Regions from separate parts of the Homo sapiens genome. Here regions 1 and 3 are each linked to region 2. Evidence: promoter capture Hi-C in human tissues and cell types (Jung and others, 2019). All regions are on one chromosome and are shown on one strand. Each heading gives the region's core, a stretch centred on a gene start or on the middle of the fragment in contact. The rest is flanking DNA. Distances are from core to core; before and after follow the strand shown. Region 1 has its middle 44 kb from the start of ACVR1C. Region 2 holds the start of ACVR1 (activin A receptor type 1). Region 3 overlaps ACVR1 (activin A receptor type 1).

Region 1 (4,932 bases), core at 1,055-3,554, 200 kb after region 2:
CTGTCTTTTCTTTCAGAAACACCTGTTAATCAGATTTTAGACCATCTGGACTCTTCCTGAAATCTTCTTATGTTTTCTCCCTTATTTCCATACTAGGTCATATTGGCCTACTTTTTGGGAAGATTTTTCTCAACTCTACCTTCTAGAGTTATTTGGACTTTTATAAATTTCTACTGCCATTTAAATTCCCAAAGGATTTTTTTATTGTTATTGTTTCTGAATATATATATGTACACACATACACACACATTTTATTTTTGTTCAATGGTTGCACTATTTGTCTTTGAATTCTCTAGATATTAATTATGGCTCATGTGTGATTTTCCAGATTTTCTTCTTCATAAAAATATATTGTTTCCTCTCTGTTATATCCCTTCTTATTAATTGAAACTTCTATCTTCATATTAGAGTTGTTTTCCAAATGTTTGCTGCTTATATGTAAGAGTGGGACCCCAAAAAGCTAATTGAAAGCTCTTTGTGCATGGCTAAGCCATTTAATTAAAAAACTTTCAATGTCATCATCTTCAAAGCAGCTGGTCAGATCCCTAGAGAAAACTCTTAGAATCTTTGACCTAAAGGGTATATGCCAGGCTGCCAATACTATGGAATCCAAGTGAGGCAAAGGTTGGGAGGGTCATAAAATGTACTATACAAACTTTTACACATCCTCTTTTTTTTTTTTTTTTTCTGGTTAGGGCTCCCACTGTCAATTTTATCTGGAGTCTCCCAGCCAAAAACCTTCTATTTTACCTTCTCCGGAGAATGAGCTCTGCTTTTCTCCCAAGAGAGGGAAGGAATCTTGGAGACTGTTTGTTCAAAACACTTAGAACCAACCATTCTGATTTTAACCTTACCTTCATGCTTCCAGAGGTACCTAGCACCAGTAATTCCTGGGCCTTCAGGAGTTCTACAGTGTAAAATGAGCTGCTTCTCGCTTCTCCTCACTGCCAGTTTAGGATTTAGCTTCTTGGGTCTGCTAAGTCATCCATCTCTTTTTCAGTTTCCAAAAGTCTGTGGCTGGGATCTCTTCTGATCTCTTTGTGGTATCTTTTTCCAAATCTTTTTCCAGGAATGTAAACATATATTTGAAGGTCTGCTTTTTCTTCTACTCTAACAAATATAGATGTTGACCGCATTCAGTCTAGTGGCAATTCCACTGTTCCTTGTGCCTTGGAAAATGTAGGGCCCCTCAATGTATGTGTATTATAATAGCATTTGTGTCTCTTAATGTGTCAATTCTGACTTAAATGAGGGGTTACCAAAGACTGACAGTATAGTATATAAAAGTAAGCCTCATTCATGAACTCATGAACTTTGTTTTTTTGTTTTGTTTTGTTTCTTTGTTTTTGAGACAGAATCTTGCTCTGTTGTGCAGGCTGGAGTGCAATGGCGTGATCTCAGTTCACTGCAACCTCTGCCTCCCGGGTTCAAGCAATTCTCCTGCCTCAGCCTCCCGAGTAGGCTGGGATTACAGGTGCCCACCACCACACCTGGCTAATTTTTTGTATTTTTAGTAGAGACGGGGTTTCACCATGTTGGCCAGGCCGGTCCCAAACTCCTGACCTCAGGTGATCTGCCTGCCTCAGCCTCCCAAAGTGCTGGGATTACAGGCATGAGCCACCGTGCCCGGCCTCATTCATGAACTTTGACTTCATCTAAATACAGTACAGTAGAAGTGCAAATCCTTCAGCTGATTTGATTATTTTCCCCACTGCACTCAGCTTCTAGGTGAGAGAAACAAATTCAAAAGTAACAACCGGGAATTTAGTTAAATTTAAAAATAAATATTCTGGTATGTGTTCTGGGGCTGAAGAGATGTGGGGCCACATTCTACACTTTCTGTATCTAAATGACAAAAAGACATTGCAAATGATGACCTGACGGCACTAAAATATATTGTATCAAATAAACATTAAATTATGTTCTATCTTTACTTAGTAAAGTGGAAACTTAGACATTTCAGAAGAGGTTTTAGCAGTGAGAGTAGACATGAAGGTATTTCAGGTTAGCTGTAAGACATTCACCAGAATGTTCTAATTCCCTAAGTTATTCTAGCTTTATGGCACAGAAGTAAGTAAATGAACAGTTGTGCAGAATATTTAACTAAGGAGTGTGCTTAGTTAGAAGAAGCTGAGTCTACAGAATTGTAGGCTTGAGCCTACATTCAACACAGCAAACTATTTTTCACCCAGAATCTGTTTTAGTGATTGCTTTGCAGTTGCTGCCTCTAATGAAACTTCAGAATCATAATAAATCATTGAAGCATTCTTGTATGGAAAACTAATACTTCACATGACAACTTTAAAAAATCCCCAGAAAACACTCTTGAGACAGATCTTTCACTCTGGGCTCTGGGGGACACAAACGAATATGTCTTTTTCCTCGAGGGTCTCACAATTTCATCAGGGAGAAAGATATTACAGTAGTCCCCCCAGTTCACGGTTTCACTTCCCATGGTTTCAGTTACCTGCAGTCAACCACGGTTTGAAAATATTAAATGGAAAATTCCAGACATAAACAATTCATAAGTTTTAAATTGTGTGCCCTTCTGAATAGTGTGGTGAAATCTCACACCTTCCCACTCCATCCCGCCCAGGATGTGAATCATCCCTTTGTCCAGCGTATCCACGCTGTACATGCTACCCGTCGGTTAGTCATCGACATCATCTGCTCCTGACATCTGACCATCAAAATCGTCATGGCTCCATGACCCAGGATCACCTGAAGCAGATGATCCTCTTTCTAATGTAGCACCAGAAGGTAAATAATAGCCTAACACTACATACATCACAACACCTACGTCATTCATTTCACTTTCTCTCATCATGTAGGCATTTTTATCATCTCACGTCATTGCAAGAAGGGTAAGTACATTGTAATAAGATACTTAAGAGAGAGAGATCACATTCAAATAACTTTTATTACAGTATACTGTTATAGTTGTTGTGTTTTATTATTAGTTGTTTTTACTTTCTTACGGTGCCTGATTTATAAATTAAACTTTATCATAATTATATATGTATAGGACAAAACATGGTATATATAGGGTTTGGTACTATCCATGGTTTCAGGCATCCACTGGAGGGCTTGGAATTTAAGACCCCAGAGGCTAAGGAGGGACCACCTAATATACAAATATGAGTATAAATTGGGAGGGTGCATGCTGTGTTAGTGATAGGAATGTTAATGGCATTTCTTTAGTTGTAATATAGAGGAGATAAGAAAAGCCACCTACCTGATTCCTCAGGGATCTAGAACTAGAAATACCATTTGACCCAGCCATCCCATTACTGGATATATACCCAAAGGATTATAAGTCATGCTTCTATAAAGACACATGCACACATATGTTTATTGCAGCATTATTCACAATAGCAAAGACTTGGAACCAACCCAAATGTCCATCAACGATAGACTGGATTAAGAAAATGTGGCACATATACACCATGGAATACTATGCAGCCATAAAAAAGGATGAGTTCATGTCCTTTGTAGGGACATGGATGAAGCTGGAAACCATCATTCTAAGCAAACTATTGCAAGGACAAAAAACCAAACACTGCATGTTCTCACTCATAGGTGGGAATTGAACAATGAGAACACTTGGACACAGGAAGGGGAACATCACACACTGGGTCCTGTTGTGGGATTGGGGGAGCGGGGAGGGATAGCATTAGGAGATATACCTAATGTAAATGACAAGTTAATGGGTGCAGCACACCAACATGGCACATGTATACATATGTAACAAACCTGCATGTTGTGCACATGTACCCTAGAACTTAAAGTATAATAATAAAAAAAAGATAATAATAATTTTGCAAGAGGGAAAAATAAACCTGTGCTTCAAAAATTAAAAAAAAAAACAAAGGAGAGCCACCTACCTACCTCAAGAGGCAGGTGGAGTCACCCAACTAAAGGAGAAATAAATCGAAGTCATTCTTGCTTTTGTTTCTTAGCTCATCCCTAGGTCTTTGGTGGTAGCAACTCAGGGGAGTAGTTTAGATACAGAAAGTTAGAATAGTGGCAGCTCCAATGAGTATATTTTAATATATAGTTTGGGTTTCCCAAATTTCAAGATCATATTTCATATATATAAAGCATATTTTATATACATGTACATATTAATCAGGTTTCTTCTGTTGACTGAAACCCATCTTAAAACACTTTAAGCAAGAAAAAAATTTTTATTGACCTACGTGATTGACAAAGTCATTGGTAGAATGAGTCAGATATGAATGGATCTGGATGCTTAGATAATGTCAGCAAAAATTTATTTATCTCCTGGCTCTGCTTTCCTCTGTGTTGACTTGACTTTTAGTCAGACTTTGTCCATGTGATGGGAATTATGGCCAACTTGAGTCTGTGGCCCATACAGAGTTTTCATATTGGAAGATTAGAGAAGCTTCAGTCTTAGCGCCCATATATATAAAAAAAAGTCTGGAGGGAACCCTGACTGCCTACTTTGTGGACCAGTAATGATAGCAAGAGGATGACTGATCAGGCCTTGATCACATGGGATGAATGAAAAGCAGTTCCTTAGCGAAAAGGTGCACTAGGAATGGAGAGACAGTAAGTGTTGTTACAGACTTGGAACAACTCAGTTTGGCTTAATTTATGCCAGTAAACAATGAAATATATCTGTTTCTTGAGTTCAGGTTGTATACATAGTAAGAGTCACTGACTTTGACATAGGTGGAGGATTGGATTTGGGAATATTATGCATTTATATATAAACTATCCCATCTTCTAGGAATTTTCCATCATCAACAACCCTACTCATGAAACTATGTTACTAATTGGAGACCCAGTTCCTGTTTTTTTTTTGTTTTTTTTTGAGATGGAGTCTTGCTCTGTCGCCCAGGCTGGAGTGCAGTGGTGCCATCTTGGCTCACTGCAAGCTCCGCCTCCTGGGTTCACGCCATTCTCCTG
Region 2 (4,814 bases), core at 91-2,590:
CAGAGCTGACACTTCAGCCAAGTGACAATGAGGGCCCTGTTACATCATTCTATAGAGCAGGGATACATATAGGTGCTCTTGCCTTGATTGGTACTGAACTTGCCTCTCCTGCTCCTCACCAATCATACAGGTACAAAGCTCTCTTTATGAAAAAAATGCTCCCACCTACTCCATCCTTTTGCTTACAGCTGGGGATTCTAGTTTTTTCACGTATATATGCCTTGTATTTCTAATTAGATTGTAAACTCCCAACCTGCAGGGACCAGATCTTCCATTTCCTTTGCAACCTTTTGCAGTACTGCAGTCACCCAATAAATGCCCTCTGCATGAATGAACCTGTAGAGATAAAAATACTTTATGGCATTCCCATTTATAGGTTTCATGTTTTTATTCTGCTTTGTGATAGGACTGTACATTATAAGCTTCTAGAGGGCAGAGAAAATGGCTTAGTGCTTTCCTTTACACTCAGCAGGAACCATGCAAAATTTGATCCTTGCATGCCTTTTTGATGCTCTGGGTAATATTAGCACACTGGGGTGTTTTTGTGTATCTAAGGACCGAGGTTATCAGACTCTCTGCAGCGGAGAATGTTCCTGCATTTCCACTGTAAGCTCCCATGGCGCCTAGGACAGGGCTAGATCACTGCAGAAGCCCCTCCATGCTTATTTCTGTTACTAAGGAAGCCAAAGGCGAACATGGCAAGCTCTGTCATAACCCTAGACCTTGCAAGGAAATGAGCAAAGTGGAAGGGGATCTGAAGGCAGGTCAGAGATGGCCTGGATGAGAATGCTAAGGCTTCTCTCTGAGAATCCAGCCCAAGTCTGACATGCAGGGCTCGAGTAGGTGGCCGCCCGCAGTCGCCGGGCCCGGGATGCCCGCCCGTCCGCCCGCCTGCCCCGCGCGCCCTCGGGAGCTGTCCAGACGGCCCCGCCCGCGCCTACCTGGGCACTCACCCGTGCCGCGCGGCCTCTTCTCCTCCCACCCCGGCCACAGGAGCCCAGCTCGGGCCTGCCCCGCCGCCTCCGAGGAGCCCCGCTGGCGGCGCGCTCATAGCTTCCACCCGGGCCAAGCGACCGGCCAGACAGCGCCAGGCGCGCCGGGGGCGGCGCGGTCAGGCTCGGCGGGGCTCGGCGGGCTCGCCCTCGGCCGGGCGCCTGCAGGGGGCGCGGGGACGGCCCCGCCCCGCCGCCTCCTCTCTCCCCTCCCGGCTCCCTGGATCCGCGCCGGGAGGAAATGATGTGTTGCTGCCTGGTTAATCACAGCTCCAGACACTCATTGGCCGAGCGCTCCGCAGCCACTTCCTCCTCCTCCTCCTCCCGCTCCTCCCGCTCCGGCTCCTGCTCTTTGCAGCCGCCGCCGCCGCCGCAGCCTCCCCCTCGGCGCAGGGGGAACTTTTCTACTCTCTGTGACGGTCTCCCCCGCCGCCCCCGGGGGCAAGCCCAGCTGGTCCGCCCGCCCCGCCCGCGGTCGTGCTCCCAGCCCGAGCCTCTGCGCCTCGGGAAGTTTATTCTGCCCGCCCTCCTCCCCTTCCTCCTCCTCTTCACCCCGCCTCCCCGCCCTCCCCCGGCTCTTTCCCCCGGGTGGCTGCCGCTGCCGCCGCTGCCGCTGCCAGCCTGCTCCTCGGCCAGCCGCGCCGGCCCCAGGGCCGGGAAGCTCCCGGCCCCACGCACCGCTCCGCTGCAGCCACCGCAGCCGCCGCCGCTCTGGGCCGGCCCTCGGCCCCCGGCTCCCGGCCCCGCAGAGTTCCGGGCTCCCTCGCCGGCTGCACCGCCCCGCCCCGCCCCGCGCCGCCCCGCGCCGCGCCGACCTGCAGCGCCCGGCTGCCTCGCACTCCGCCTCCCCCGGCTCAGCCCCCGGCCGCGGCGGGACCCGAGGTGAGCGCAGGTCGCCGGCCGCGCCTGCTGGAGCCGGGAGGACTGAGGGAGGAGGTAGCCTAGCGGGAGAAGAGGCAGGGATCGGGGGTGGCAGGGTGGGCGTCTGCGGTGCCTCCCCCTCGCTTTCATTCCTTTCTCCCCCAAGCTTGATCCCCTCTCCGTGGGGGAAGCAGCCGCGGAACAAAACTGTCTTGCTTTGGGCCTGAACTGCTGGTGGGATATGGGGGGTGGGGGGGCAGAGGCGTGGAGCGGGGGTCTCAGGTTTGTATTGGGGTGTGTGTGAGTGCGTGTGTGTGTGTGTGTGTGTTGTGAACTCCTTCAGGGTGTGCGACTCTGACTTGTAAATCGATCTGGCCGCGGGGCCACGGGGCTTACCTTCCTAGCTGAGCTTGTAGAGAGTAAGGAGATAGATAGGCGAATTTCCCCCACCCTCAAAATATCCATCTCTTCCAAGAGGAATTTTCTGCTGGAGAGACAGCCAATAAACTCTGCTCAACTCCCTCCCTCCCTCGGTTCTTCCTAGCTGCAGTTTCAAAAAGCTTCAAAGCCAGGAATGTGGGATTCATCTTCCGATCCCCAGAAGGCAAATGTGGTTACAGATGTTGCACGGTACTTTGCCAAGTTTAAAACCCTTCCTTCAACACTGTAACCAAAACAGTGAGGCTAGAACCTCGGGCGCACTAAGAAGAGATGTGGGCCTCTGGGGCCGCTGGATTCAGTAACTTCCGTCGGGTTCTAGACTGGCTCGGCTCTGTCCAGTTTGTGCCAGATAGTCTCCCACCCCCTCCCCACCCCTCCTTTCCCCTGGAGATTTGAACGCTGCTTGCATGGGAGAAAAGCTACTTAGAGAAGAAAACGTTCCACTTAGTAACAGAAGAAAAGTCTTGGTTAAAAAGTTGTCATGAATTTGGCTTTTGGAGAGAGGCAGCAAGGTAATACAATGGACTTGTCAATTTTATTGGGCTTTTCTTTCTTTTTTGAGGGATGTATGATAAGAGTTAGATGATGGGCAAAGGGGCCCGTTCCATACATGTTTTTACATATTTTTGAGAAGAGGCCCATGAATTGAGACATAACCCAGTGGTTTTAAAGAATCCTGTCCCAGAGATGCAGATTGCTCTGACAGCCCAAGGGAAGGCGGTGGCAAAAAATAGACACCACCTCCCTTTTCCCCAAAAAAATTCTTCCTGGAAAGGTGGTGTTAAGAAATTTCAGAGATGGGCTGATCCAAGTGGCGGGCCTTAAATGGAAACACTATAGTATGTCCTGGCACTTGTCTCTGGAGGTGGGTTGCTGGCCAGGGGCCCAGGCTTGGGCAGCCAGCAGACACTAGACTTGTGCTGACCTCAGACATCGGCCTCGCCATGCAGCTTCATAGTGTGCAGACTGCTTAAGTTTGAAATATGGGCCTCATCCATTTCACTGATGGGGACATAGGGGTCAGGAGGTTATCTTATGCCTGGATGGGACCTCGATCACTTATTTTATGATTCACTTGTTTTTATTTTCTGTCTTGGAATTTTAAAAAATGGAATTCTTTTGAAGCTGAAATCTAGGCCTTAAGTTGATGTAACTGGGTGTTGGATAATAGCATTTCTGCTATTACCCCTTATGCAGGTACTCACAGGTGGTGAATGATGGATAGATAAATTCTGGATAGGTGACAAAGACTAAGGATTGGGATGATTATAGATTGGGTTCATGCCCTCCTTTTCCAGCTGTGTTGTTGAGTTTTACTTGAAATGGAGAGGGTGGTTTTAAATAAAACTTGATTTAGATAGTAGTCTTACAACTTTTGTACCTTGGAAGAGAGTGATCATTTGAATTCTAGCAAGTTTGTTGTTATCTGTGAGGAATTTAAAGGAATATTAAGGATTCAGAGTAAAGATGCCATATTCAGGAATGTAATGTATTAATTTCAGAAGTGAGGAACTTAATTTGATTAATAGATTTGTAACGAATTTTTTTCAAAGTAGTGATTTGCCAGTTTTCTTCATGTGTCCAAGGAAGGTATAACAGAGATTGAGTCAGGAGATAGAGGTTATGCCTCTATCTTGCCCTAGATTGGACTGAACTAGTCCCATGATTGTCATGATAGGCTTCTAGGTAATTCTCAGGCTTGGATTGAGTAGTCCAGTCTTCTGAGGGAGGGGGGACAGGACAGAAATGGATTTGAAAAATGATTCTGCTCTTCAAGGTCATGAGGTGAAGATGGAATCAATGCTGGGGCTGGGAGCTGTAGTCTGTGGCTTGTTCTGCTCTTGGATCTCTGCATCTTGATTTATTTTTATGTGAAGCGATCTCATGCCCAACTCAGTAGGAATTCTGGAGAAGCAAACCACTGATGGTGGCAAAACTCTTTGATATGTTTGGGTGGCTTTAATGACAGGATAGTTTAGGGGTGCTGGATATGTGCTAGGCACTGGGCTCAGCTCTTCACAGGTACTTTTTCATGACATTTCCACAAACACCATATGTCTTATTATTATTTTACCGTCCTACAATAAGAAATTGAGGCTTGGCAAATTTCAGTGGTAGAATGGGGATTTGAACCAGAGGTCTGCAGGACTTCAGAACTCATGTTCTTGGCCACTTTTGCCAGTGATTGTCAAAGTTCATTCACTCACATACTGTCTTCCTGAGTTTACCATGGCTGAGTCCCACTTACTCTATTAATATTTTTCTTTAAAGCAATGATTCACTTAAAGAAAAGAACCTAAAGACATCATTTTTTTGAGAGGAAATTATGTATTACTACCATATTTGGAAAGCCAACTCACTTGTTAGGAATAGGAGGTAGTCATAAATATGCGTTTGTACTTGCACCGAAACCCCAACTTCAGAATAATGATTATGTGGAGTGTGTGTATGTTGCAGGGACCTGGAATAAAAATGGAGGAAGTAGGTAGATGATACAGTGTTGGTGATGTTCTGGTTTTT
Region 3 (4,356 bases), core at 431-2,930, 130 kb after region 2:
GCTTAACCATTTCCATATTGTTAGATATCCTGTTTCCACCATTTGGGGCCTATTGTAGACATTTTTGTGCACATGATGATTTCGTTCAGGGAAATGATTCTTAATCTGAAAATAAGTAGACTTAATAGGTCAAAGAATGTGGATGTTTTTATGGCTTGACACATATTGCCAAGTTGCTTTTCATAAAAGCTGTACTAATTTACAATATCCCCCATACCCTAGGGTGTGATGTGCCTATTTCATTTTCTTAGCAGCTTTAGGAACTGTCATTAAAAGAATATATATTTTTGAAATTATTGCATATAAAATGTATCTCATTTAAATATATGAATATCTTCTGTGAGGAAGGTCATTATAATGATACATCCTTTGAGTTTCTGAATGCATTATAAAAATTGATGACCAGATAGATCTCTTGGAGTAATATGATCCTCAAGTGAACCATGAGCATAAAAATATGTTGCATTTTTATATTTTTTATTGGAATTTTACATTTATTTGCTACTAATAATAAACCTCATGCTGTTTCTTTACAGGAAATGAGAGTTAAGTCCATTTTTGCATCTGAGCATTTCTCAATAGTGTCCTTTGGAATTTACTTTTGGTGTTTAATTTGACATTGAATTTGGAATTGGTAGGAAAGAAAACGGCTTTCTTACCTTCCCTGTGTGAATTTTCCATATGAACTTAAGGCAGGGGTTCACTCGGATCGATAGTTTTTAAACTGGAATGTGCATCACAGTCACCTAGAGTACTGAAGACACAGATTCCCGGGGCCCAGCCCCAGCATTTCTGATTTAGTAGTTCTAGGGTAAGAAAATGTGATGCCGAGGCTCCCAGCCAAATACACACGAGAGTTTTTGAAAAAAGACGGTGTACCCAGATTGAATAGACAAACACCAATTTGGTTGGATACATTAGCATGATGTGCTTCTGTCTTCCTTGCTGTGGTTCTCTTAGGGCCATTGCACTGCATACAGAAGTCTGTGTGAAGAGTGCACTCCGGAGCTGTGTGGGGTTTGTGCTGGGTCTGTGGGAGGCAGTGAAGTGGAATCACTAACATTCCAGAGTCTGACGTCATACTCTCTGACTCGATGACTTACATCAGTTTCGTTATTTAAAAAATAATAATATCTACTTTAAAGGGTTATGGTGATTAAATGAGATCGTATATGTAAAGCATCTCATGTGTGTCTGGCATATAGAAAGTGCTTTGGTATGGTTTCCTTTCCACGGAAAATGGGTGATGAAGGCCACCCAGGAGCTTGCAGATCACAGTGGCCGTCTTCTGCCTCTTGTTTTGCTACCTCTTGGCCCTAGTACATTTGTTTCCCCTCTTCACTGCCCACAGGAAGGCTCTGTGGACATACTCTTGTTTCACTGTTACTGGCTTTGATTATTTTGTGATGGAATCCAGGGTTAAAATGTGTCAAAAACCATTTGTATCTTGTAGAAAAATCCTTGCTGACCAAGTTGTGCCTCTTATGGGGTGGGGACTAGGACATACTTGTTAGAATAAGCTTATATTTGGTGCACTTACTTTGAAAAAAGAACCTCTTCTAATGAATCTTTGAGTCAGCCAGGGAGCTGCTTGTGCTTCTGCTCCTAAGTGCAATGGGGCTTGTGTATGGAAACCATGACAACTCCTATTTTTGTCAGCAACTCAATATCCAACATGTTTCATGACGTTAATTACCTACTTTTGTGTGTATTAAGGTTTGCATAAGAGGATAAATCATATTAGGGCCAATTTTTTGTATTCATTAATTTCAGTTTTTTTGTTTGTTTTAACATTTAGGACAATGACTGGGGGCAGGAATATGGAGGTGGGGTGGGAGGGAAGAATTATTTTCCCCCTGACTTCCTGGAATTTCATGTCCCTGATTTAGAGATCCAGAACAGAGGAGAGTAGTCAACTAACCTCATGACAAAATAAGTTGAAGGCTGCAAAACTTTATTGGCTGCTGTTTACTGACTAGTAGTCTCTTTTCCTTGACACACTTCTAAAAGCAGTCTTTCACCAAGAGAAATATCTGTATCCTAAACCTTGTAACAGCCACAACATTCAGTGAATGATACATTTTTCTGAAGAAGCCTTTCTTCATAGCTACCAAATGTTTGGAACTCTTGTGGTGCTCCTCTCTTTCTCGATTTTGGAGGTATGCAAGCTCTAAGGCTGTCTTGTTCATAGTTTAACCCAGGGAATAGCCATGCAGCATCTCTAGGCTTTTTGCCCTCTCCTTTGACAACTTACAGTAATATTGACACATGCTTTTAGTAGGGTCCAACTACACAGTAATCTATAAACCATTTACTTTTGCTGTGTTACATCGATGAGAATTCCAACAATAGAAATTAATTTTATAATTTTAACAGATTCCTGAGAATGCAATTAGTTTGGACTTTGAGTAATGTACATGGCTCCGTAAGCCCATGAATTACAATGGGCTAGAGGGGCAGGACACAGCTGTCACAGCATGTACTTTACCCAGCATGGGACAAGGCTGTCTTTCCAACTCCTGTTTTCAGGAAGAAGTGCCTGCCATGAGTTACAGGAATGCCTGAGGTACTGATTCTCATAACCCTCTGGCAGTGTGGCCGGGCCAAGCGGCCAGAACTCGGGCTGTCATCCCCTCTGCCATGAACAGCCTCATCCATTTATTCATTAGTCATGTTTTATCTGTGCCGTGGCATGAGAAATATCTCGAAGCCCTCTTGTGAGGTATGTTAGGTGAAGTAACCCAAATATTGGATATACCTTTTTGAATCATGTCTCACCAGGAAGAATGATGCCTTTCTGTGAACTCAGTGTTTCCCAATTCATTCATACTGCCCTCATCATTTTTTTCCATATCCAAATGCTACTTTGTGCCATCATTTACAGAATCTTTTCCTTCAAATTGGCTAACTCTTTTCAAAGTTAATTTTGTTTTGAAAGGAAATTATTATCACTGCTGGAAATGGAAAACCAGTATCACATGGCATAAAATGGAAGATAACTATGAAAATAAATATGTAACTAATGAGATGAAAAAGTTTAGTCCATGAACCACATCAAATTTTCTCACGTGCCACACCTGAAGGAAACACTGTATTCACTTATAGTGCTCTCAGATGCCAAATATGGGCCATTTTCTTTTTTTCCCTCTCTAAAATAGCTTTACTTCTAATGCTCTGTCCTCTGAAGGATTTCAGCGCTTCTGTAGGAGTTAATTGTTAAAAATAGCTCTTTGTATGGATATACATGCCAGAGACTCTGTCCTCATTACCTGGATATCTGATGTGACTACCCAAGTTGGAGGATTATGAAGAGAGTTTGTAATGAGAAGTAGGCACACTGTGGCATGAGATGCAAGGAGAGAGAGAAATGTCTTTCATTATCCCATGGGTGGCTTGTAAGGGAGAATTCTAGAATATAAACAGAAAATTGGATTCTAGTTTAACTTTGCCATTAATTAGCTGTGAACTTGAAAAGTACTTTTTCCAATGTGACCCTCAATTTCTTTTGAAGGAAAGGAAGGATGGAATTCTCATGGCTCTAACTTCCCATCAGTTCCTCTTTCCCTTACCTTTGGCTAATTCAAAGCATAGCCAGGTCCACAGTTTCTTATCTGCAACTGAGAAGTCCCCAAAACTTTGAAACTCGAAAGCTTTTTCATAACTTATTTGACAGAACACTTGACCTGAACTCATGTGATAGTCAAACATGACCTGAATGGACGTGTGTCAGTGTATAACCTTTATTTATTCCATCTAGTGTGACTGGTCATATATTTTGCTGAAGAAATATATTTGATCATGGGGATACTCCTTAGACTTTGCTGGGGATGTTACATAAAATATAGGGTATGCTATTACCTTTATAAAATGTAAAAAGTTCCAAATTTGGCAAATGCATCTAACCTTGAGAGTTTTGAAAAAGGATTATGGACATATATAATCAACATTTATTTGTGTATCTAGTGTCTGTAATACACTAGGTGTTGTGTTAGGCTCTGGGGAAGCACTTGGGCAAAAAATCCCCAGAATATCCGATTTAAAGGTGCTCACATTCTTGTTGAAGAGTCAAATTATTATAAATAAATAGATCAAGTCACTGTGGTTGAGGTATACAGGAAAGTGACTGAGTATGGGGGTGAGGGCACTGAACTTTGTCTAGGCCCCTGTGTTGTGGTAGCAGGATGGGACAGTCTTCTCAGAAGGTGAGAAGCATGAATTGAGTCATCTGTGGGTTGAATAAGAACCTAGTTGGACAAGCTTGGGAGGATGTGAGGTGCAGGTGGGAATGAGAAATAAAACTTGACCACGATGACAGTTGGTATGCCAGACAAAAGGTAGGCTGAAGGATCCCATAAA

Evidence for each region. The method cuts DNA at HindIII sites, captures the fragments that hold promoters and counts their contacts. A contact is called where the count stands out against the background at its distance.
Region 1: a fragment that was not itself captured here is called in contact with the fragment with the promoter of ACVR1 in region 2 in 1 of the 25 tissues and cell types used here (mesenchymal stem cells).
Region 3: a contact is called between a fragment that was not itself captured here and the fragment with the promoter of ACVR1 in region 2, in 1 of the 25 tissues and cell types used here (H1 embryonic stem cells).

The regions. Positions count from the first base shown.
Region 1 is chr2:157,670,057-157,674,988 of GRCh38, reverse strand. No RefSeq gene overlaps it. Among named protein-coding and RNA genes, the nearest start is that of ACVR1C, 44 kb to the right of the region's middle. The HindIII fragment of the contact is 5,534 bases long and covers 1-4,932 here.
Region 2 is chr2:157,872,856-157,877,669 of GRCh38, reverse strand. It overlaps ACVR1 (activin A receptor type 1), which reads left to right and starts at 1,340. Exons shown (of 11, transcript NM_001111067.4): 1 at 1,340-1,874. LOC105373714 (a long non-coding RNA gene) reads right to left here and starts at 1,086. Exons shown (of 2, transcript XR_923518.3): 1 at 954-1,086. RefSeq lists silencers at 779-968, 989-1,228, 1,289-1,508, 1,519-1,568, 1,659-1,868 and an enhancer at 1,099-1,393. The HindIII fragment of the contact is 2,058 bases long and covers 159-2,216 here.
Region 3 is chr2:157,743,099-157,747,454 of GRCh38, reverse strand. The region is part of intron 9 of ACVR1 (activin A receptor type 1); the gene reads left to right. Among named protein-coding and RNA genes, the nearest start is that of ACVR1C, 120 kb to the right of the region's middle. The HindIII fragment of the contact is 4,548 bases long and covers 1-3,954 here.